7 separate regions of the Homo sapiens genome follow, and all the other regions are linked to region 5. Evidence: promoter capture Hi-C in 16 types of primary human blood cells and fetal thymus (Javierre and others, 2016). All regions are on one chromosome and are shown on one strand. The core of a region is centred on a gene start or on the middle of the fragment in contact, and the rest is flanking DNA. Distances in the headings are between cores, read along the strand shown.

The links. The method cuts DNA at HindIII sites, captures the fragments that hold promoters and counts their contacts. A CHiCAGO score of 5 or more calls a contact.
Region 1: a contact is called between a fragment that was not itself captured here and the fragment with the promoter of MTHFD2 in region 5, in 14 of 17 cell types (activated CD4 T cells, naive CD4 T cells, naive B cells and 11 more). The highest score is 9.6, in activated CD4 T cells.
Region 2: a fragment that was not itself captured here is called in contact with the fragment with the promoter of MTHFD2 in region 5 in 4 of 17 cell types (naive CD4 T cells, activated CD4 T cells, fetal thymus and 1 more); the score reaches 8.4 in naive CD4 T cells.
Region 3: a contact is called between a fragment that was not itself captured here and the fragment with the promoter of MTHFD2 in region 5, in 7 of 17 cell types (non-activated CD4 T cells, fetal thymus, erythroblasts and 4 more). The highest score is 8.1, in non-activated CD4 T cells.
Region 4: a fragment that was not itself captured here is called in contact with the fragment with the promoter of MTHFD2 in region 5 in 1 of 17 cell types (total B cells); the score reaches 5.2 in total B cells.
Region 6: a contact is called between a fragment that was not itself captured here and the fragment with the promoter of MTHFD2 in region 5, in 14 of 17 cell types (activated CD4 T cells, erythroblasts, total CD8 T cells and 11 more). The highest score is 14.3, in activated CD4 T cells.
Region 7: a contact is called between a fragment that was not itself captured here and the fragment with the promoter of MTHFD2 in region 5, in 6 of 17 cell types (activated CD4 T cells, naive B cells, naive CD4 T cells and 3 more). The highest score is 10.3, in activated CD4 T cells.

Annotation. Positions count from the first base shown.
Region 1 is chr2:73,861,398-73,864,512 of GRCh38, forward strand. STAMBP (STAM binding protein) reads left to right here. Exons shown (of 10, transcript NM_213622.4): 10 at 806-3,115. The coding sequence ends at 862. Among named protein-coding and RNA genes, the nearest start is that of ACTG2, 30 kb to the right of the region's middle. The HindIII fragment of the contact is 1,563 bases long and covers 941-2,503 here.
Region 2 is chr2:74,553,632-74,556,635 of GRCh38, forward strand. It overlaps LOXL3 (lysyl oxidase like 3), which reads right to left and starts at 311. Exons shown (of 14, transcript NM_032603.5): 1 at 245-311. DOK1 (docking protein 1) reads left to right here and starts at 1,089. Exons shown (of 5, transcript NM_001381.5): 1 at 1,089-1,183; 2 at 1,523-1,822; 3 at 1,944-2,037; 4 at 2,263-2,447; 5 at 2,677-3,004. The coding sequence starts at 1,124. RefSeq lists a silencer at 431-1,180 and enhancers at 1,189-1,706, 1,331-1,390. The HindIII fragment of the contact is 1,450 bases long and covers 534-1,983 here.
Region 3 is chr2:73,731,981-73,734,747 of GRCh38, forward strand. TPRKB (TP53RK binding protein) reads right to left here. Exons shown (of 5, transcript NM_016058.5): 2 at 2,449-2,611; 3 at 183-305. The coding sequence starts at 2,589. Among named protein-coding and RNA genes, the nearest start is that of TPRKB, 4.0 kb to the right of the region's middle. The HindIII fragment of the contact is 4,504 bases long and covers 1-2,767 here.
Region 4 is chr2:73,752,452-73,755,461 of GRCh38, forward strand. No RefSeq gene overlaps it. Among named protein-coding and RNA genes, the nearest start is that of TPRKB, 17 kb to the left of the region's middle. RefSeq lists a silencer at 1,547-1,730. The HindIII fragment of the contact is 4,937 bases long and covers 1-3,010 here.
Region 5 is chr2:74,197,352-74,200,099 of GRCh38, forward strand. It overlaps MTHFD2 (methylenetetrahydrofolate dehydrogenase (NADP+ dependent) 2, methenyltetrahydrofolate cyclohydrolase), which reads left to right and starts at 1,264. Exons shown (of 8, transcript NM_006636.4): 1 at 1,264-1,391. The coding sequence starts at 1,291. RefSeq lists an enhancer at 926-1,484 and silencers at 1,193-1,332, 1,523-1,802, 1,933-2,022. The HindIII fragment of the contact is 3,357 bases long and covers 1-2,748 here.
Region 6 is chr2:73,842,951-73,845,912 of GRCh38, forward strand. It overlaps STAMBP (STAM binding protein), which reads left to right. Exons shown (of 10, transcript NM_213622.4): 3 at 1,863-1,938; 4 at 2,217-2,312. The region is part of intron 1 of LOC112268419 (a long non-coding RNA gene); the gene reads right to left. Among named protein-coding and RNA genes, the nearest start is that of STAMBP, 15 kb to the left of the region's middle. The HindIII fragment of the contact is 1,321 bases long and covers 651-1,971 here.
Region 7 is chr2:73,885,849-73,888,714 of GRCh38, forward strand. No RefSeq gene overlaps it. Among named protein-coding and RNA genes, the nearest start is that of ACTG2, 5.7 kb to the right of the region's middle. The HindIII fragment of the contact is 6,858 bases long and covers 1-2,866 here.

The DNA of each region.
Region 1 (3,115 bases), core at 472-2,971, 340 kb before region 5:
GGTGGTAGTAATGAGTCCCAGACTCTTACCACAACTACCACTTAAATAGCAGTCTGGCTTCCAGACTGAGAACCACTAGCCTAGAATGAACATTTTAAATAAGGGTTTTTTTGTTTTTGTTTTTGTTTTTGTTTTTGTTTGAAACAGAGTCTCGCTCTGTTGCCGGGCTGGAGTGCAGTGGTATGATCTCAGCTCACTGCAGCCTCTGCCCCCCAGGTTCAAACAATTCTGCTGCCTCAGCCTCTCGAGTAGCTGGGACTACAGGTGCGCGCCGCCACACCGGGTTAAATTTTTTTTTTTTTTTTTTTTTTAGTAGGGTCAGGGTTTCACCATGTTGGCCAGGATGGTCTTGATCTCCTAACCTCATGATCTGCCCACCTTGGCCTCCCAAAGTGCTGGGATTACAAGCGTGAGCCACCGCACCCAGCCAAAAAGTGGTTTTTTAAAATGACTTTTCAGGCCGGGCACGGTGGCTCACGCCTATAATCCCAATACTTTGGGAGACTGAGGCAGGCAGATTACTTGAGGTCAGGAGTTCAAGTCCAGGCTGACCAACATGGCGAAACCCCACCTCTACTAAAAACACAAAATTAGCCAGGCATGGTGGCTCGTGCCTGTAATCCCAGCTACTGGGAAAGCTAAGGCAGAAGAATCGCTTGAACCCAGGAGGCGGGGGTTGCAGTGAGCCGAGATCGTGCCACTGCACTCCAGCCTGGGCAACAGAGCAAGACCCTATATGAAGAAAAAAAAAAAAAAGACTTTTCAGAATTTTCTAGGACTCCACCTTTCTTTTTTCCTATTGCAGAGCTGCAGCCACGTGACTGTTGTGGACAGAGCAGTGACCATCACAGACCTTCGATGAGCGTTTGAGTCCAACACCTTCCAAGAACAACAAAACCATATCAGTGTACTGTAGCCCCTTAATTTAAGCTTTCTAGAAAGCTTTGGAAGTTTTTGTAGATAGTAGAAAGGGGGGCATCACCTGAGAAAGAGCTGATTTTGTATTTCAGGTTTGAAAAGAAATAACTGAACATATTTTTTAGGCAAGTCAGAAAGAGAACATGGTCACCCAAAAGCAACTGTAACTCAGAAATTAAGTTACTCAGAAATTAAGTAGCTCAGAAATTAAGAAAGAATGGTATAATGAACCCCCATATACCCTTCCTTCTGGATTCACCAATTGTTAACATTTTTTTCCTCTCAGCTATCCTTCTAATTTCTCTCTAATTTCAATTTGTTTATATTTACCTCTGGGCTCAATAAGGGCATCTGTGCAGAAATTTGGAAGCCATTTAGAAAATCTTTTGGATTTTCCTGTGGTTTATGGCAATATGAATGGAGCTTATTACTGGGGTGAGGGACAGCTTACTCCATTTGACCAGATTGTTTGGCTAACACATCCCGAAGAATGATTTTGTCAGGAATTATTGTTATTTAATAAATATTTCAGGATATTTTTCCTCTACAATAAAGTAACAATTAACTTATGTTTTTGTGCTTCAGAGTGATCCATTTGATCAAGCATTGTATAAACAGGTTAAAAAAAAGGTATGGTTGTTTTGGAAAGGTGAAGGAAAAATGGAATTTGAGATATACTGACACTGATGGTGTGTCCCAGTTCACTTTTAATTACTCCTTGTTTTTTATCTGCCTGTTGCCATCTTCCAGAGGTGTTGTGAAGTCATCTCTGTTCTTTTGGTGCTGTCTCAAATGGGTCAACCATTCACTTCCTCCTTATGCCCTCCATGCTTTTGGCTGAGGATAATGAAGCCTTTGTTTGGAGTACCAGGTTACACTCCAATAAATGATTACATTTCCCAGCCACCCCACCCTACCAATTTCATTGTGTTGGCTGTTCTTTTCTGACTAAGGCAATACCTAGGAAAACGCTTGAAGCAGCAATTGTTACTGCAATTTTCTGTGAGCTGAGCCTGGTGTTCTAGGTGGCCTAGAAATAATGGTGTCATTTGTGACACCTCGAGTGAGGGCAGGAGAGTAAATACTTTGGCTAGGAGAAGAGTGATTTATTCTTTATCAGAATTCTAGGTGGGGGAGGGAGAATCTGTGAATGCATAAAGTTTTCTTCATTTTTAAATTTTGTCTCAGTCTTTATTGCTTAGGTTAGTGGTCCTTGAACTTGTCCCCTGAAAGAGCCCAGTTCTCTATATTCTTTTTCTTCTCTTGGGTTCTTAATTCCCCATATAGTGGAAATTCCTTCTTTGCTGTTTTGGTATGGGTGGGTCTGGGGGCCAGCTGGGCTTGGACAAGCCATTTCCTGCTGCAGCCCAGAGCAGCCTGGCTGTTCCACCTTGCTCTAAACAGTCCTGAAATTGCCCAGTCCTCTGCTTTTGGGAAATCCATCCCCTTCTTCCCATTCTTTGTCTACCACTTAGCTTAGGGCTTTCTTACCTTTTATTTCGACTGTAGCCGTTGGCTTTTACCAAGTCTCTTTGTTTTTAGCATTTCTTCATTCCAGTCTGTTCTGCACACTTTGATCAGGAGAAGCTTCTCACATTCCAGCCATGTTCATGTTTTCTCTCTTGCTCAAAAACCTGCAATAGCTTCCCATTGCTGAAAATCTAAATTTAGCTTTTAGTCAGAACTTTCCACTTAAAGTTCTTACCCCTGGCTATATATTCAAATATCTAGGGAGCAATTTAAAAAATACTGATGCCTGTGTTCTACCCCCCACCAATTAAAGCTGAATCTCTAGGGTGGAGCCTCAGATGTTGTTTCTGCATTTGTCTTTCAAGCTGCTAGAATTCTCAAGTACAACCAGGGTTGACAACCACTGCATTGGTCTTTGATACCTAAGAATTGTGAGCTCTCTTATCCGTCTCTGCCCACCAAAGACATTCAGCCAGGTCAACAACATATCATACGTTGCAACCACATTGATCACAGACTGATCACCAAACTGCTATATTTTCTTTTCTCTTCCTCTAGGCACAAGATATCTTAGTGGCTAGATGGGTGCAGGAAATCAGTCTGTAGATCCCTCTTCATATCTGCTGCAGCCTAGCCACTGCAGAGGCACTCTGCATAGGATGGTCTAAGTGTCTCTGTCTTCATCTTACCTCTGTGGAGGAGACGTGGAATCAAGCCAGCCCACAAG
Region 2 (3,004 bases), core at 9-2,508, 360 kb after region 5:
GCGCCTCCCGGAGGAGCCCCCTCCCTTAGGGCGCTCCTGGCGGCCCTGTTCGAACACCCGTAGCCCCCGCCTCCGGTATGTGCCTCCTCCGTGTACTCTGTCTCACTTGCCCTTTGACAAGAATCAAACTCTCAGTTGGGTGGCTTCCCCTCGACTCCATCCCACACCACCCGTTTTCCCTGGTCCCTCCACATCCTCTCCATCCCCTACTCATTCCCTCTGCGGTTAGCGTGACTCCCCCTACCTTGGCCGAGCAGGACCCTAAGGGCTGGGAGAAGAGTGCTGGTCCTGGAGATCAGTCCTAGGACTTCCAAAAAAAAAAAAAAATGCTCGGCCAGGGGAGACTGGACCCCCCTCTCTCCCCCTTCTCCGTTCGTCCCTCCCACATCCCCCTGAGCCCTCCCACATTCCGCCTTCTCCTTCCATTCCTCCCGGCCAGTTCCCTCCTCTCCTCCTCTGGGTCCTCCCTCCCCGTGGAGCTGGCCACTGCCGCGCCCCCTCCCCCTCCCTGGCCCTCCCGGCTCGTTCAATGAAGCTTTCTCTTCCCGCGGCATGGAGGCCAGGCCTCTGCGGTCAGGGAGCTGACATGCAAGCGGCGGCCGGGCGGCGGGGCGGCCCCGGTGGTGGCGGGAAGCGGTTCAACCCCAGCCCTCCCTCCGAGTCCCGGGCCAGCGGAGTCTAAACAGCCCGGCTCGGGCGGGGCTGGGGGCGGGCCCGGCCAGGGTAAATAAAGCCCCGGAGGCCCGTGTGGGTCTCTCCGGTGCCCGGGGCGCTTTCGGGGTGATGTCATGGCTTTCACTCTGACGTCACCTTGGGCATATGACGTCACGCGCAGCCACCACGCCCAGAGGCCAGGGCCCTCGCGCCAAAACCGAGGACTTTCGGTGGAGCCACTGGCGCGCCCCCACGACGGCGGGTAGGGGCCTGGGGTGCTGCAGCTCCCGGCTAATCCGGGGGTCTCCACCATTCCTTCTCGCTCCTCTCCCTCACCCCACCGCGACCCCCCCAGCGGCTGCCGGCGGGGGCCGGGGAGGGGCGGAAACTCCTCCAGGGAACCCGGCCCCGCCTCCCGCCCCGCCTCCCGCCGCAGGGCCAGGAAGCGCGGAAGGAACCGCCGGGGGCCATGGACGGAGCAGTGATGGAAGGGCCGCTTTTTTTGCAGAGTCAGCGCTTTGGGACCAAGGTAGTCTGGCGCATGGATGCCGAACCTTATCCGGGCTAGTAGTGGGTGAGAGAGCCCAGAAACAGGGAGAGGTGGGCAGCGGGCTGGAGAGCGGCGCCGGGAGTTGGAGAGCCTGTGACTTTCCCGTGAAGTTGCTTTGCACACTCCCGGGAAGCGTCTGTAGTCTAGGGGTTCTGGTCCTGGGGAGACGGAGTGGCATCGTCCTTGGGAAACTTCGCCCCCAACCCCGTTTGGAAGCCCCAGATCCCAAATCGACTTGCGCCGCAACCTCCTTCCCCGTCGGGACCCGGGCCGCCTGCGCACGCCACTCCCTCTCGAGCACTCTCTCTCTCTCCCTAGAGGTGGAGGAAGACCTGGGCCGTGCTCTACCCGGCCAGTCCCCACGGCGTAGCGCGGCTCGAGTTCTTTGACCATAAGGGGTCGAGCTCTGGGGGTGGCCGAGGGAGCTCGCGCCGCCTGGACTGCAAAGTGATCCGTCTGGCTGAGTGTGTGAGTGTGGCCCCCGTCACCGTGGAGACCCCCCCTGAGCCCGGCGCCACTGCCTTCCGCCTGGACACTGCTCAGCGCTCGCACCTGCTGGCGGCCGACGCGCCGTCCAGTGCAGCCTGGGTGCAGACGCTGTGCCGAAACGCCTTTCCGGTGAGGAGCTGCGGCGATGCGGGGTGGGGGCAGTTACAGAGGCAGAGAAATGGGGCTGCCTCAGACCGACCCCCGCTCCCCGCTGAGGAAATTACGGGTTTCTCGATGCTCTCTACTACAGAAAGGCAGCTGGACTCTGGCGCCTACCGATAACCCACCTAAGCTTTCTGCCCTGGAGATGCTGGAGAACTCCTTGTACAGCCCTACCTGGGAAGGTAGACGCCTCAGAAGCCCGGGCAGGGATGGAGTGAAGAGGAGGAGGGCCGAGGGCCTTTGGGAAGTGGGTGGATACCCAGGGGCCCATGGGGAAGTAAGAAGTAGGAAGGCCCTGAGATCTGGCTTCCGAGTGAGTGCTTGGACACTATGCTCATGAGTCCTCTGGGTCCCCACTGCTGCCCCCGTCCCTCCCCCGCAGCTGTCTAATCGTGTATGCCTTCCAGGATCCCAATTCTGGGTAACGGTGCAGAGGACTGAGGCCGCCGAGCGCTGTGGCCTGCATGGCTCCTACGTGCTGAGGGTGGAGGCTGAAAGGCTGACTCTCCTGACCGTGGGGGCCCAGAGTCAGATACTGGAGCCACTCCTGTCCTGGCCCTACACTCTGTTGCGTCGCTATGGCCGGGACAAGGTGCAGGGGCTGTCCGGGAGGGCTTCCTGGGTTGGGCAGCTGTGGGAGGGGTGGGGCAGGACAGAAAGTGGGAAGCTCTGACCTTTGGATCCCCCTTTCTTGCCTACCCGGTGACCCCGCGTCTGTTCGCAGGTGGTCTCTTCTTTGTAGATACCCTAACTAGTGCAGGCGTGTGACTCACTTCCTCTGATGGCTCCTGGTAATGTGTTTCCCCCTCTACCCTCCTTAGGTCATGTTCTCTTTCGAGGCCGGCCGCCGCTGCCCCTCAGGCCCTGGAACCTTCACCTTCCAGACGGCACAGGGAAATGACATCTTCCAGGCAGTTGAGACTGCCATCCACCGGCAGAAGGCCCAGGGAAAGGCCGGACAGGGGCACGATGTTCTCAGAGCTGACTCCCATGAAGGGGAGGTGGCAGAGGGGAAGTTGCCTTCCCCACCTGGCCCCCAAGAGCTCCTCGACAGTCCCCCAGCCCTGTATGCTGAGCCCTTAGACTCCCTGCGCATTGCTCCATGCCCTTCCCAGGACTCCCTATACTCAGACCCCTTGGACAGCACGT
Region 3 (2,767 bases), core at 122-2,621, 470 kb before region 5:
CATATGTAAACTGTCTTAGTAAGAGGCAGGGTTAAACCTCAACTCTCTGTCCAGAGCTCTCTTCACTATTATTTGGGTTTATTACTAACCACTGGCTTGCAGGAATTTAGCCTCCAACCCAACACTGAGGAACACATATGTTATTATGACACGGTCAACAGAAATAGGAAAGTGCACATTACATTGTTATTTGGGGAAAGGTTGAAAATAATTTCAGTAGATAGAGTTCTTGTCTTCATTTTTCCCAGTTTGTAGAGGTGAACTGCTTTGTTTGCTGCCACAAGTATCTGAAATGGATCAACAATCTACCAAAGCAAGGAAAAAGAATTAATTACACATGGAGAATCTGCAGTGCCTGAAAACACATGGTAACTCATGGTTAACTCCAGTGTCAAGCTGTTTTACTTCATCACAATTCTTACGGTCTGTATTTTCAAAACTATTATCCCGGCTGGGCACGGTGGCTCACACCTGTAATCCTAGCACTTTGGGAGGCCAAGGTGGGTAGATCACCTGACGTCAGGGTTCAAGACCAGCCTGGCCAACACGGCGAAACCCTCTCTACTAAAAATACAAAAATTAGTCAGGCGTGGTGGCACGCACCTGTAATCCCAGCAACTCAGGAGGCTGAGGCAGGACAATTGCTTGAACCCGGGAGGCAGAGGTTGCCGTGAGCCAAGATCGCGCCATTGCACTCCAGCCTGGGCAACAAGAGTGAAACTGTCTCAAAAAAAAAAAAAACAAAAAACAACTATTATCCCAAGGGCCTGGGTAGTCAGGAAATCACAGAATTTTAAAGCTGCAAGGAACTTATGCAAATAGTAAAATTTTTTTAAATAACATTAATTGAGGGCTAATATTATGGGCATGATCATATTGCAAACATTTTACTTGTAATATTTTCTTTAATCCTCAAAACTACCCTATGAAATTGACACTATTATTAGTAGTAGTAGCAGTAGTAGTAGTATGTAATTGATGAGGAAATTGAGGCAAAGAATGTCTGGGTTTGAATCCCATCTCTGTCACCTATCACCTAGGAAACTTATGCAAGTTCATTAGCATTTTATTTGTTAGAGACCGATGAAACAGTATTCACTCCATAGGCTGTTGTGAAGATTAAGCAAGTTAGTATACGTAAAGCACTTGGAACAATGCTAGGAATGCAGTAAGCACTATATAAAGGTTGGTTATGTCTTGTTCAAAGGCCTAAGTAGTAGGTCTGGGATTAATTCCCGGTAACATGATCGCACTGCGTGTGCCCTGTTTTTTTGTTTTTTTTTTTTTTTGGAGACAGACAGAGTCTCTCGCTCCATTGCCCAGGCTGGAATGCAGTGGCTCAATCTCAATTCACTGTAACCTCCGCCTCCCAGGTTCAAATGATTCTTGTGCCTCAGCCTCCCGAGTAGCTGGGACTACCAGCACACACCACCACACCCAGCTACTTTTTGTATTTTTAGTAGAGACACGGTTTCACTATGTAGGCCAGGCTGGTCTCAAACTCCGGGCCTCAAGCAATCCACCCACCTTGGCCTCTGTGTGTACTCTTAACCACTACACTATTCCTCCTCTACAGACTGTCTTGTTAGGAACCCCCATTTTAAAGATGAGAAGCTGGAGATCCAGGCATTTCCCATATTAGACCCAGACCACAACCTTTCCTATTTCCTAGGGCAGGACCTGGCACTTCTGCCTCTATTCACTGTTATAGTCAAAGTTGGCTGCATCTGACTTGGACAAGAATTTTTTCCCTAACCGTGACAGATTTTTAGGCTACCCTATAACATCACAAATATTAATGTATACTTAAATGCCCTGTATGGCTCATTCATTCTTTTTTTTTTTTTTTTTTTTTGAGGCGGATTCTTGGTCTGTTGCCCAGGCTGGAGTGCAGTGGCACAATCTCGGCTCACTGCAACCTCTGCCTCCCAGGCTCAAGCGATTCTCCTGCCTCAGTCTCCTGAGTACAGGTGCCCACCACCATGCTCAGCTAATTTTTGTATTTTTAGTAGAGACAGGGTTTCACCATATTGGCCAGGCTGGTCTCAAACTCCTGACCTCATGATCTGCCTGCCTCGGCCTCCCAAAGGGCTGGGATTACAGGCGTGAGCTACCATGCCTGGCCATTTTTTTTTTCCAGACAGAGTTTTGCTCGTCGCCCAGGCTGGAGTGCAATGGCGCAATCTTGGCTCACTGCAACCTCTGCCTCCAGGGTTCAAATGATTTTCCTGCCTCAGCCTCCCGAGTAGCTGGGATTATAGGCGCCCGCCACCACGCCCAGCTAATTTTTGTATTTTTAGTTGAGACAGGGTTTCACCATGTTGGCCAGGCTGGTCTTCAACTCCTGACCTCAGATGATCCACCCGCCTCGGCCTCCTAAAGTGCTGGCATTACAGGCGTGAGCCACCGCACCCAGCAGGCTCATTCATTCTTAAAATTTATATTTACCACTGTAGGATTTATCAGTGATCCATCGATGGTGCCTTCCATGGCCTTTCTTCTCAAGTCTCCCGCATTTTTTACATCTTTAAATAACAGAAGGGTTACCCTGCATTCGGGAAATAGGTCCAGCTGATGTGTTAACTGCATTTCACAGATAAGCAGGATTCTACTGCACACAAAATGAAAAGACCAAAAGATTTCATTTAAAAGTTAACATCAGAACTCATTTCTTAATAAATATTCAAAAACTTTGAAAGTAACTTGATAAAAGTGTTAAACTAGAAAAATCCATCGCCAAAGCCCATTTGGCATCCTCATGAGATGT
Region 4 (3,010 bases), core at 36-2,535, 440 kb before region 5:
CTGGAGGCAGGAAACAATCACCCCTGGCCAATAGACTCAGTCCCTAACACAGAGACCAGGTGCGATGTAAATGGTGGGGCCTTTCCCACTTAGGACACTATGAGAACCACATCCTTGAAGGTTTGAGGAAAGGGGTTACTCAGGTTAAGAGCCTCAATAAGGTACAGGAAGTACAGCGGCAAGCATATGAGGACCCTTTGTAATTCCCAGAAAGACTCCATCAGACATGTGGAAAGTAGGTTGACGCTAACTAACCCTGAGGCACCGGACAATCAGAGAATGGTCAATGTGACCTTTATCAGCCACAGTGCCCTGATATTCAAAGAAAACTGCAAAAGGTAAATGGGATCCTTGGGTTGCCAATCTCACATTTAGTGGACTTAGCTTTTAAAGTGTACTATGCTCAGGATGAGGCTCAGGAAAGTGCAAATTGAAGCAACAAGTAACTCACTGGCAGCTGTGCTTGACTACCAACCTAGGGGAAAAGGAAGAAATCAAAGAGCGGCTCACGCCCCCTTCAGAAAAAAAACCAATATGCCTATTGTAAGAAGGAGGGACACTGGAAAAAGGGCTGTCCCAAATTGACCAAAGCAGCTAGCAAGTGCAGTGTCCCTCAAAATCAGATGAGGAGAGAGAATAATATTTAGATGAAGACTGATGTGTCCCAGGGACTCCCTTAGACTTGGAGCAACCAGTGGCTATATCCCCACAGGATTCCTAGATACAACTGACAGTGGGGAACAGAATGATTGACTTTTTACTTGACACAGTGCCACATATTAATTAATTAACAATTGTCTCTCTCCAGCTTTGGGAAAAACCATTACTGTTACACGGATATTGGGAGACACCATTATCCCTTTCTACAATCTTCAGGTTACCATTTACGAGAGACCGGCCTAGGGCATAGTTTCTTGTACATGCTTAATGCCCAGTGCCCCTCCTGGGCTGGGATTTGCTTGCCAAATTGTATGCTCAACTTGTCTTTCCCCCCAGATGCCTAGATATAATGATTCCTTCTGAACAAGTTTGCAGGTTTCAAATACTCCTGCTGCAACCAGAAAACGAAGAGGTTCAGGACATTCCAGAAGAAATTCTCACACAGGTAAGGAGAGATGTTTGGGCCCAAGGGAAGCCAGGGAGAGTGGTCACAGCCAAACCCATAAAAATTAAAAGAGAGACACAGAATACCCATTAAAGGAAGTGGCATGAAAGGGTATTCAACCACTCTTGGAAGGCTTTTTTGGCACAAGGACTGATTTGGTCCTGTAATTCTCCCTTTAACATTCCTGTTCTACGGTGGGCAGCAAGCCACCCAGGTGCTGAGGCAAGAGACCGAGGGCACAAGTTGTTCCAGTATAATAAAATATATAAAACAACAAGAGTTATACTAGATCTAAATCATAGACATGATTATATATGAATATCATTAATCATTAGTTTGTAGCAATTACTCTTTATTCCAATACTGTAATAATCCTCGCTCTATAATCATAACCTAGGAAAAACCAGGCCATACAGAGATAGGAACCGAAGGGACATAGTGAGTGAGAAGTGATCAGAAGACAAGAGTGCAAGCCTTCTGTTATGCCCGGACAGGGCCACCAGAGGGCTCCTTGGTCTAGTGGTAATGCCAGCGTCTGGGAAGACGCCCATTGCCAAGCAGACCGTGGTCTAGCAGTAGCATCAGTGTCAAGGAAAAACACCCGCTACTTAGCAGACCGGGAAAGGGAGTCTCCCTTTCCCTGGGGGAGTTTAGAGGAGATTCTACTCCTCCACCTCTTATGGAGGGCCTGACATCAGTCAGGCCCGCCCGCAGTTATCCGGAGGCCTGACCCTGTCTCCCTGTGATGCTGTGCTTCAGTGGTCACGCTCCTAGTCTGCTTTCAAGTTCCATCCTGTACACCTGGCTCTGCCTTTTAGATAACAGTAGCAAAATTAATGAAAGTACTAAAAGTCTCTGATATGCAGAAATAATGGCGTAAGCTGTCTCTCTCTCGCTCTCCCTCTCTCTGCCTCGGCTGCCAGGCAGGGAAGGGCCCCCTGTCCAGTGGACACGTGACTCACGTGACCTTATCAATCACTAGAGATGACTCACACTCTTTACCCTGCCCCTTTTGCCTTGTATCCAATAAATAACAGTGCAGCCAGGCATTCGGGGCTACTACTGGTCTCTGCATCTTGGTGGTAGTGGTCCCCCAGGCCCAGCTGTCTTTTATCTCTTTGTCTTGTGTCTTTATTTCTACAATCTCTCGTCTCCACACATGGGGAGAAAAACCCACTGACCCTGTGGGGCTGGTCCCTACATCTTACCATCATGCAAGTCCCATTAAGACAACTACAGTTTCGGCTGGGCGTGGTGGCTCACGCCTGTAATCCCAGCACTTTGGGAGGCCGAGGCGGGCGGATCACGAGGTCAGGAGATCAAGACCATCCTGGCTAACATGGTAAACCCCATCTCTACTAAAAATACAAAAAAGTTAGCCAGGCGTGGTGGCAGGCACCTGTAGTCCCAGCTACTCAGGAGGCTGAGGCAGGAGAATGGCTTGAACCTGGGAGGCGGAGCTTGCAGTGAGCCGAAATCGTGCCACTGCACTCCAGGCTGGGTGACAGAGCGAGATTCGTCTCAAAAAAAAAAAAGACAACTACAGTTTGTACAAGACTTAGGGCCAGTAATGAAACAGTCTAGGACATACACCCTATGGTAACTAACCCCTATAGCTTGCTGATCACTTTGTCAGGAGAACTAGGTTGGTTTACAGATTTGGACTGTAAAGATGCCTTATTTTGCATTAGACAAGGAGACACAAGAGATCTTTGAATTTGAATCTCTGAGGCTGGGACACAGGTCAATCAGCAGTACTGTTATCTCAAGGATTTAAAAATTCCCCCACAATCTTTGGGAAATTTTTGGCATGGAACTTAACGGACATCTGGCTGACAGAAGGAACGCTTTTACAATATGTGGATGAAATCTGTGTTGCAAGACCTTCAGAGCTTTCCTTGAAAA
Region 5 (2,748 bases), core at 14-2,513:
GTTTCCCCTGTTCTTTGTTTGTTTGTTTTGTTTTTTGAGACAGAGTCTTTTTGTTGCCCAGGCTGAAGTGCAGTGGCACAGTCTCGGCTCCCTGCAACCTCTGCCTCCCAGATTCAAGCGATTCTCATGCCTCAGTCTCCCCAGTAGCTGGGATTACAGCGTCCGCCACGATGCTCAGATAATTTTTTGTGTTTTTAGTAGAGACGGGGGTTTCAACACATTGGCCAGGCTGGTCTCGAACTCCTGGCCTCAGGTGATCCGTCCGCCTTGGCCTCCCAAAGAGCTGGGGATTACAGAAGTGAGCCACCGCGCCCTGCCCTCCTTAAGTTTCCTTGCGGGAGAGATACTTTGAGACTATGCAAAAAGTTTGCGGGAAAAAATACAGGAAGCCCAGTTGAATCTGAATTCCAGATAAGCCATAAATAAAGTATAAATATGACCTCCCAAAGTGTTTATCTAAAATTCTGATTTGATTGGGCATCTTGTGTTTTTATTTGCTAGATCTGGCAACCCTATATGTAAATATCTTGCTCCTCATCCAACTTTCACCCAGTTGTTTTGACATCTATTGCTGCTTCTGAATCAGGGTTGCACATGCAACCCTGACGTCTGTCTCTGAATATCTTTTATGATTTTACTTTTTTTGTTGTTGTTTTGAGATATGGTCTCACTCTCGTCGCCCAGGCTGGAGTGCAGTGGCGCGCCTTCAGCTCACTGCAGCCTCAACCTCCTGAACTCAGGTGATCCTTCCACCTCAGCCTCCCCAGTAGCTGGTACTGTAGTCACGCGCCACCATGTACTGATTTTGGAAAATGGTGATTTTCTAACTCCATCATTCCTTTTACTTCTGTTCGTTGGCATTCTATCAGCTTGTCTTTTCATCCACCCTTTACAGTGCTTGGCACACAGTAGGCGCTCATATAATTGTTCAACGAATGAATGAATGAACTTTTCTCTTGTGTTGTCCGGCCTTCGGTGACACTAGCGGCGTCAGGCAGGAGTTTGACTTCCTCAGCCTATCATGGCACGTTGCCGAGGCTTCAGCGCCTTACAGGACCTCGCTCCAGGCTCTTCTGGCTCCAATCAAAAGCAGGGCTCTTTCGGACTTCGCTTACGTTTAATAAAGAAAACCGGTTGGCCCCTTCGGCTCCACCTGGCTCAACAGACAGCCAGTGGCATGCGGCAGGGACCAATGGGTGGCGGAGGGAGGCGGGGCCTGCCACGAGGCCGCAGTATAACCGCGTGGCCCGCGCGCGCGCTTCCCTCCCGGCGCAGTCACCGGCGCGGTCTATGGCTGCGACTTCTCTAATGTCTGCTTTGGCTGCCCGGCTGCTGCAGCCCGCGCACAGCTGCTCCCTTCGCCTTCGCCCTTTCCACCTCGCGGCAGTTCGGTAAGAGGGTCACAGAGCTCGGTCAGCGCGGAAAGCTGAGGGGAACGGAGGGCGAGGGGCACGCCGGGCCCCCGAGGGACACCGAGGGAAGTCCTTCCCGAACATCTCCGCCCCGGCGGTGGTGGCCGCTGAGGGGTGTGGCGGGGCGACGTGGCACCGAGCGCCGCCGCAGCTCTCGACTGGGGCGCTTCCTCGGCGCGGAGGGCTGGTACCCGAAGCCCGCCTTTCGGAGGGAGCCGCTCTCCTGCGACTCGGGGCGTCGCCGGGGCCCGTGGCCAGTCGGCGGGCGGGACGGGGGTGGCGTGCGGAACGCGAAGGCATCAGTTTACGCGGAGCCTTCCGACAGCGCCGGCCGCCTCTGGCTGGGATGCTGAGAGTCGTCTGGGGGAGAACAGGCGAGGGTTCCAAAAGAGCAGCCCTCGGCGAGTTGTCCTTGCGGGGACCCTAGCGGCGGAGGGCGCTGCTGCAGCTGATGAAATCGCGGAGCCGACTTGCTCGGGGTCCCCGCGCCGCCCTCCTCCCTCCGCCGGTGGGAGTGGCCCGCGCTGCCTCCGCTCTGCCAGGAACATGAACGGACTCTGGGCACCCTAGCTTTGGCTGCAGCCCACCAGAGCCTGTCAGTGCCGGGCTGCGTACATAGAGGTGGCAAACATCCGGGAGGCTCCCAGGGCCTTAGGGAAAGGGGGAATGGAGAGTGACAAGTACCCATATTTCAGCGGTACTTGCAGAATTTCAGTTTTACAAGATGAAGAGTTCTGAAGATGGATGGTGGTGATGGTTGCACAACATATGAACGTATTTAATACCACTGAACTGCACTTAAAAATGGTTAAGATGGGCCGGGCGTGGTGACACGCGCCGAGGCTGAGGCACGAGAATCGCTTGAGCCCAGGAGTTCGAGGCTGCAGTGAGCCGTGATTGCACCACTGCCCTCCAGTCTGGGCGACAGAGCGAGACCCTGTCTCAAAAAAAAAAAAAAAAAAAAAAGTTGATAAGGTTTATGTTATGTGAATTTTACCACAATAACAAAATTGGGAAAAATATACAGGGGAGGAGGAAAGGAAAAGCTCTGTTTGCATTTTTGGGTTTCCTTGGGAAGGTGATTTGGTCGGTCATTAGAGCGCTGGCATTGTTGGCATTGTTAGAGCCCTGCACCTTACAACATCAGCCCCTTCTTTTTTTCATCTAACGTTCACTGTGTACCAGACACTATGCCAAGCTGTGCGAATTCAAAGATGAGAAAAACTGTTCTTAATGGAGCTCATGTTCCTGACAAGGGGCAGAACACGCGTGTAATTTCCAGTCAGTGCGGAAATGCTGTTAGAAATATTTCAAAGGCGCTGCTTGTTGGAGCAAT
Region 6 (2,962 bases), core at 61-2,560, 350 kb before region 5:
TTTCTTAGCTGATTCAGGCCTCAATACAAAGCACATTCAGCCTGCTAAAGGTAGTAAATATTAATATGTATCTTGGCTTTTGGGGCTAAGATGAGAGTTCTACTGAATCATCTATCAGTCTCTAAAATATAAGAAATATGTCTTATTTATCTTAATAGATTCTTCAGGACTTTATGGTTTGAACAAATGAATCTGTATTTCTTTTAAATATAGACTTCAAGGAAACTGTTTTATATCTTTCTTTTTTTTTTTTTTTTTCCAAATAGAGATAGGATCTCCCTCTGTCACCCAGGCTGGAGTGCAGTGGTGTGATCAAAGCTCACTGTAACCTCAGACTTCTGGGATCGAGAGATCCTCCTGCCTCAGCCTCCCAAGCAGCTGGGACTACAGATGCATACCACCACACCCAGCTAATTTTTGTGTTTTTTTATGTTTTGTTATATATGTTTGTGTATGTATATATATATATGTATATATATATATAAATTAAAAAATATAAATAGAGACAAGGTCTCACCCTGTTACCCAGGCTGGTCTTGAACTCCTGGGCTCAAGCAGTCTTCCTGCCTCGGTCTCCCAAAGTGCTGGGATTACAGGCATGAGCCACCGCACCCAGCCTCTTTTATATCTTCTTCATGAACCCAAAAGGAAGCTTTTTAAAGAACCATTTTTATTTTAGAGTCCATCCCTGCCTTGAGGAGCCTTATCAAGTTGGATCAAAATGAAACTTGTGTGCCTAATATAGAACTGAAGGATGAGGACTTATCTTTAGAAAGTTTGTTTTGGTGGGGATCATCTTTTTTCTTTATTGAGGATTCTTCTTCCAATTACTTCTGCCCCATGGGCAGTAAGTAGAAAAGAGTTTATCCCAATTACAATATAATATTTTAGAGCTATCAGCAAGCTACCTTCAATTTATTTTTTTATCTCAGTTTCTGTGTATTACAACTTAATTCTGTTAAAAGACATCTTTGTTCAGAATCCCTCCAGTAGTTCTAGACATTCCAGAATCCGTATGGAAGAAGTATGGTGTAGTGGTTAAAAGAATAGGCTCTGGAGCCAGCCTGCTCATACTGAAATTCTGAATCTGCCACTTTCTTTCTGTGACAGGTTACTGGACTTTTATTTATTTTCACTGCCCCTAAGTAGATGTCTTAAATGTTAGAGATTTGTGAATTAATTAAGTTTATTCTCCCCACTGAGCTTTAGAGCCATGGACAAGAACCAAAAGATGAAATCTAGCATCTTATATTTACCTAAGCACTTTTCATCAAAGACAGTGCATGCTAACATGTAATATGCACATACTACATGCATAGAACACATGCACTAAGTATTTCCATGCATTTTTGTATGATGCAAAGTAGTATTCTTCTTTGAAGGAACACGAATCCCAAAGGAAAAAAGCCAAAGTTAAAGGTTACATAAGAGCTAGAAGGAGTAAGGAAACATGGTTTTCTCTTGCTTCCTGCCCATGGCTGCCAAACGGTTCTCTGAAGACTGCTATGTGACAGAAGCCCTTTCCTTTGAAAACCTGTCACGTCACAACAAGAAAAAGATCTCTTTCTTTGGAGGTACATTTTTGGGCACAAGAAAGGCTTTTTAAAATTTTTTTGGCCATCTTTTTCATTGTAGGAGTCTGGTGCTTGCTGCCTAGTTTGGGAGTAGAGGAAAAGACTCTGGCTCTTTAGGGGGATAGAGATGGGAAAGGAGCATGGCCCAGCTGGGTGTATTAGCTCTCCCTCCGCTGCACTTCTGGAACCTTTCATATAAGGGCTTCAGGATAAGGGGGTTGCATAGCTTTAGGGTCTTATGGACATTTGGACCATTTGCTTCATAATCATTTTGAACTGTTTCCTTAGGCTCTTTATTGAGAAACTACCAAAACATCGAGATTACAAATCTGCTGTCATTCCTGAAAAGAAAGACACAGTAAAGGTGGGTCTTCACTTTCATTGTTGCCCATCTAAAAGCTTCAGAGCAGCACAGACTGACTTCAAGATAAAAGTAGTAGTCTCTGCATCTGAGTACCAGATCCTGCAATAGGAGATAAGGCCATTTCACCACAACAGTTCTGAAGTAGCAGGTATGGTACAGTAGGGGGTATTTTAAATCATTTTGGGAAATGTTGCAGTCACCAACTTGACTTAAGTCTTCTTTTGGATTCTGTAATTTTCTGGCATTGTTCTAATTCTATTTTCTGTTTTGTGTCTCAGAAATTAAAGGAGATTGCATTTCCCAAAGCAGAAGAGCTGAAGGCAGAGCTGTTAAAACGATATACCAAAGAATATACAGAATATAATGAAGAAAAGGTCAGTATATAACAGCTAAGAAGAAAATTATTTTGCTTTTTTAGGCTGTGCCCTGGGATTGTAATATGACATTTCAATATATCCTGTGCTTTTAATGTGCTGTTTCACCTTTTTTGGGCAAAGACCAGAAACTCAAAAAAGTAGAACACCAGTGGTTAGGCTCAGGGTTGTAACACAGATATAGCCTATTTGTCGAAGAGAGTGACTTGAGGGACAGAAAATCTGTCGCCTACCTGCTATGTCTAGAGTGAGAATCATAAGAACAATGAACATTCTCTCCAAAACATAGGTTTTTAGATCAGAGAATTTGAGGGTTGGATTCACATTTGGTTATACCTGAAGCTATTTATAAGAATTGACTTTTCAAGCTATTTTTTTTTTTTTTTTTTGAGACAGTCTCACTCTGTCGCCTAGGCTGGAGTGCAGTGGCACGATCTCAGCTCACTGCAACCTCTGCCTCCCCGACTCAAGTGATTCTCCTACCTCAGCCTCCCGAGTGACTGGGACTACAGGCATCCGCCACCATACCCGGCTAATTTTTGTATTTTTAGTAGAGATGGGGTTTCACCATGTTGGCCAAGATGGTCTCAAACTCCTGACCTCAAGTGATCCGCCTGCCTCGGCCTTCCAAAGTGCTGGGATTACAGGCG
Region 7 (2,866 bases), core at 326-2,825, 310 kb before region 5:
CTAGGACTACAGGCATGTGCCACCGTGCCCAGCTAATTTTGTATTTTTAGTAGAGATGCGGTTTCGCCATGTTGGCCAGGGTGGTCTCGAACTCCTGATCTCAGGTGATCTGCCTGCCTCAGCCTCCCAAAGTGCTGGGATTACAGGTGTGAGCCACTGCGCCCAGCCCAAAAGGATGTTTAGAGCAGCTTTATGCATAACTGCCAAAACTTGGAGGCAACTAAGATGCCCTTCAGTAGGTGAGTGGATATGTAAACTGTAGTACATCCAAACAATGAAATATCACTCAGCACTAAAAAGAAATAAGATATCAAACCGTAAAAAAGACATGGAGAAAACTTAAATCTCTATTGCTAAGTAAAAGAAGTCAACCTTAAAAAGGCCACATACTGTACGATTTCAATTATATGGCATTCAAGAAAAGGCAAAACTATGGAGACAGCAAAAAGATCAATGGTTGCCAGGGGTTGTGGAGGGGAAAGGATGAATAGATGGTCAGTGAAATTAGTCCGTATGACACTACAGTATAAGGGTGGATACATGGCATTATACATTTGTCAAAACCCATTGAATGTACAGCACCAAGAGCAAACCCTAATGCAAACTATGAACTTTGGGTGATAATGATGTGTCAATGTAGGTTCATTGGTTATAACAAATGAACCACATTGGTATATGACTTTGATAGTGGAGAAACCTGAGAGTGTGTGGGTGTTGGGCGTAATGGAAACTCTCTATACTTTCTGTTCAATGTTTCTGTGAACCTAAAACTACTCTAAAAAAATAGTCTAGGCTGGGCACGGTGGCTCACCCCTGTAATCCCAGCGTTTTGGGAGGCCAAAGCAGGTGGATCATGAGGTCAAGAGATCAAGATCATCCTGGCCAACATGGTGAAACCCCATCTCTACTAAAAATACAAAGATTAGCTGGGTGTGGTGGTGCATGCCTGTAGTCCCAGCTACTGAGGAGGCTGAGGCAGGAGAATCACTTGAACCCGGGAGATGGAGGTTGCAGTGGGCTGAGATCACGCCATTGCACTCCAGCCTGGTGACAGAGAAAGACTCTATCTCAAAAAAAAAAAAAAAGTCTGTTTAATTAAAACACGACGCTCATATACAATTTTTAAAAAGTAGCCACCCATTAGGATGGCTACTTTAGAAAATAAAATACAACCCCGAAAATAACAAAGTGTTGGCAAGGATGTGGAGAAATTGGAATCATTGTGCACCACTGTTGGTGGAAATGGAAAATGATGTGGTCCCTATGGAAAACCATTTGGCACTTCATCAAAAAAGTAAAAAGAAAATTACCAGATGGTCCAGCAATTCTGTATCTGGGTGTATACCCAAAAGAAGTAAAAGCAGGGTCTCAAAGAGCTATTTGTACATCCATGTTCATAGTGGCATTATTCACAATAGCCAAGAAGTGAAAGGACTTCAAGTGTCACTCAATAAATGAATGGATAAACAGAATGTGTTATAGAGATACAATGAAGTATTATTCAGCTTTAAAAAGCAAGGAGGCCACACATTGGGTCATTCCTGTAATCCCTGAACTTTGGGAGACGCAGGCGGGAGGATCGCTTGAAGCCAGGAGTTCAAGACCAGCCTAGGCAACATATTGAGACCCGCCTCCCGCCTCCTCCACAAAAATTACAATTTTTTAAAAATTAGCTGGGTGTGGTGGAGCATGCCTATAGTCCTAGCTGTTTGGGAGGTTGAGGCAGGAGCATTGCTCAAGCCCAGGAATTTGAGGCTGCAGTGAGCTATGATCACGCCACTGCACACCAGCCTGGGTGACAAAGTAAGACCCTGTCTCCGAAAAATAAAATTACATAAATACAAAGCAAGGAAATTTTGACTCATACTACAGCATGGATGAACCTTGAGGGCAAACACTGTATGACTCCACTCTTACAAGGTATTCAGAGTTGTCAGATTCAGAGACAGCAAGTAGAAGAGCTGTTGCCAGGGGCTGGGGGAGGGCAAAGTGAGGAGTTGTTTAATGGATACTGTTTCAGTTTTGCAAGATAAAAACGTTCTGGAGACTGGTTGTATAACAATGTGAATATACTTAATAGTACAGAACCGCAGGGCACGGTGGCTCACACCTCTAATCCCAGCACTTTGGGAGGCTGAGGCAGATGGATCACCTGAGGTCAGGAGTTTGAGACCAGCCTGGCCAACATGGTGAAACCCCGTATCTACTGAAAATACAAAAGTTAGCTGGGCATGGTGGTGGGTGCCTGTAATCCCAGCTACTCAGGAGGCTGAAGCAGGAGAATCGCTTGAACCCGGGAGGCGGAGGTTGCAGTGAGCCGAGATTGCATCATTGCATTCCAGCCTGGGCAGCAGGAGTGACACACCGTCTCAAAAAAACAAAACAAAACAAAACAAAACAAAAACCATATAGAACCATACATTTTTAAATGGTTAATATTGTAAATTTTATATTATATGTGTTTTCCACAATTACAATTTTTAAAAGTTAAAATGTATAAAAAGAAGTGCTCAGCCTTCCTAAGGATGTTATAAAACAGACACTAAACAGGAAAGACATTTGATTAAACTTTAGTAAGGCAAATGCTACCAGACAAAATCGAAAGGCAAATGTTTAAACTGGGGGGAAAATATTTGCAACACTTGTAGTAGGCAAAAGGCTAATTATATCACTAATATAATATACCAAGATCTCTCATAACTCAAGAAGATAAAGGTGAACAATCCAATAGAAAAAAAAAGTAAACAGGAAGCAGCCATTTTCAGAGAAAGACAAGTTAAAAAAAAAAAAAAGTTAGGTCGGGCACAGTGGCTCATGCCTGTAATTCTAGCACTTTGGGGTGCTGAGGTGGGCAGATCACCTGAGG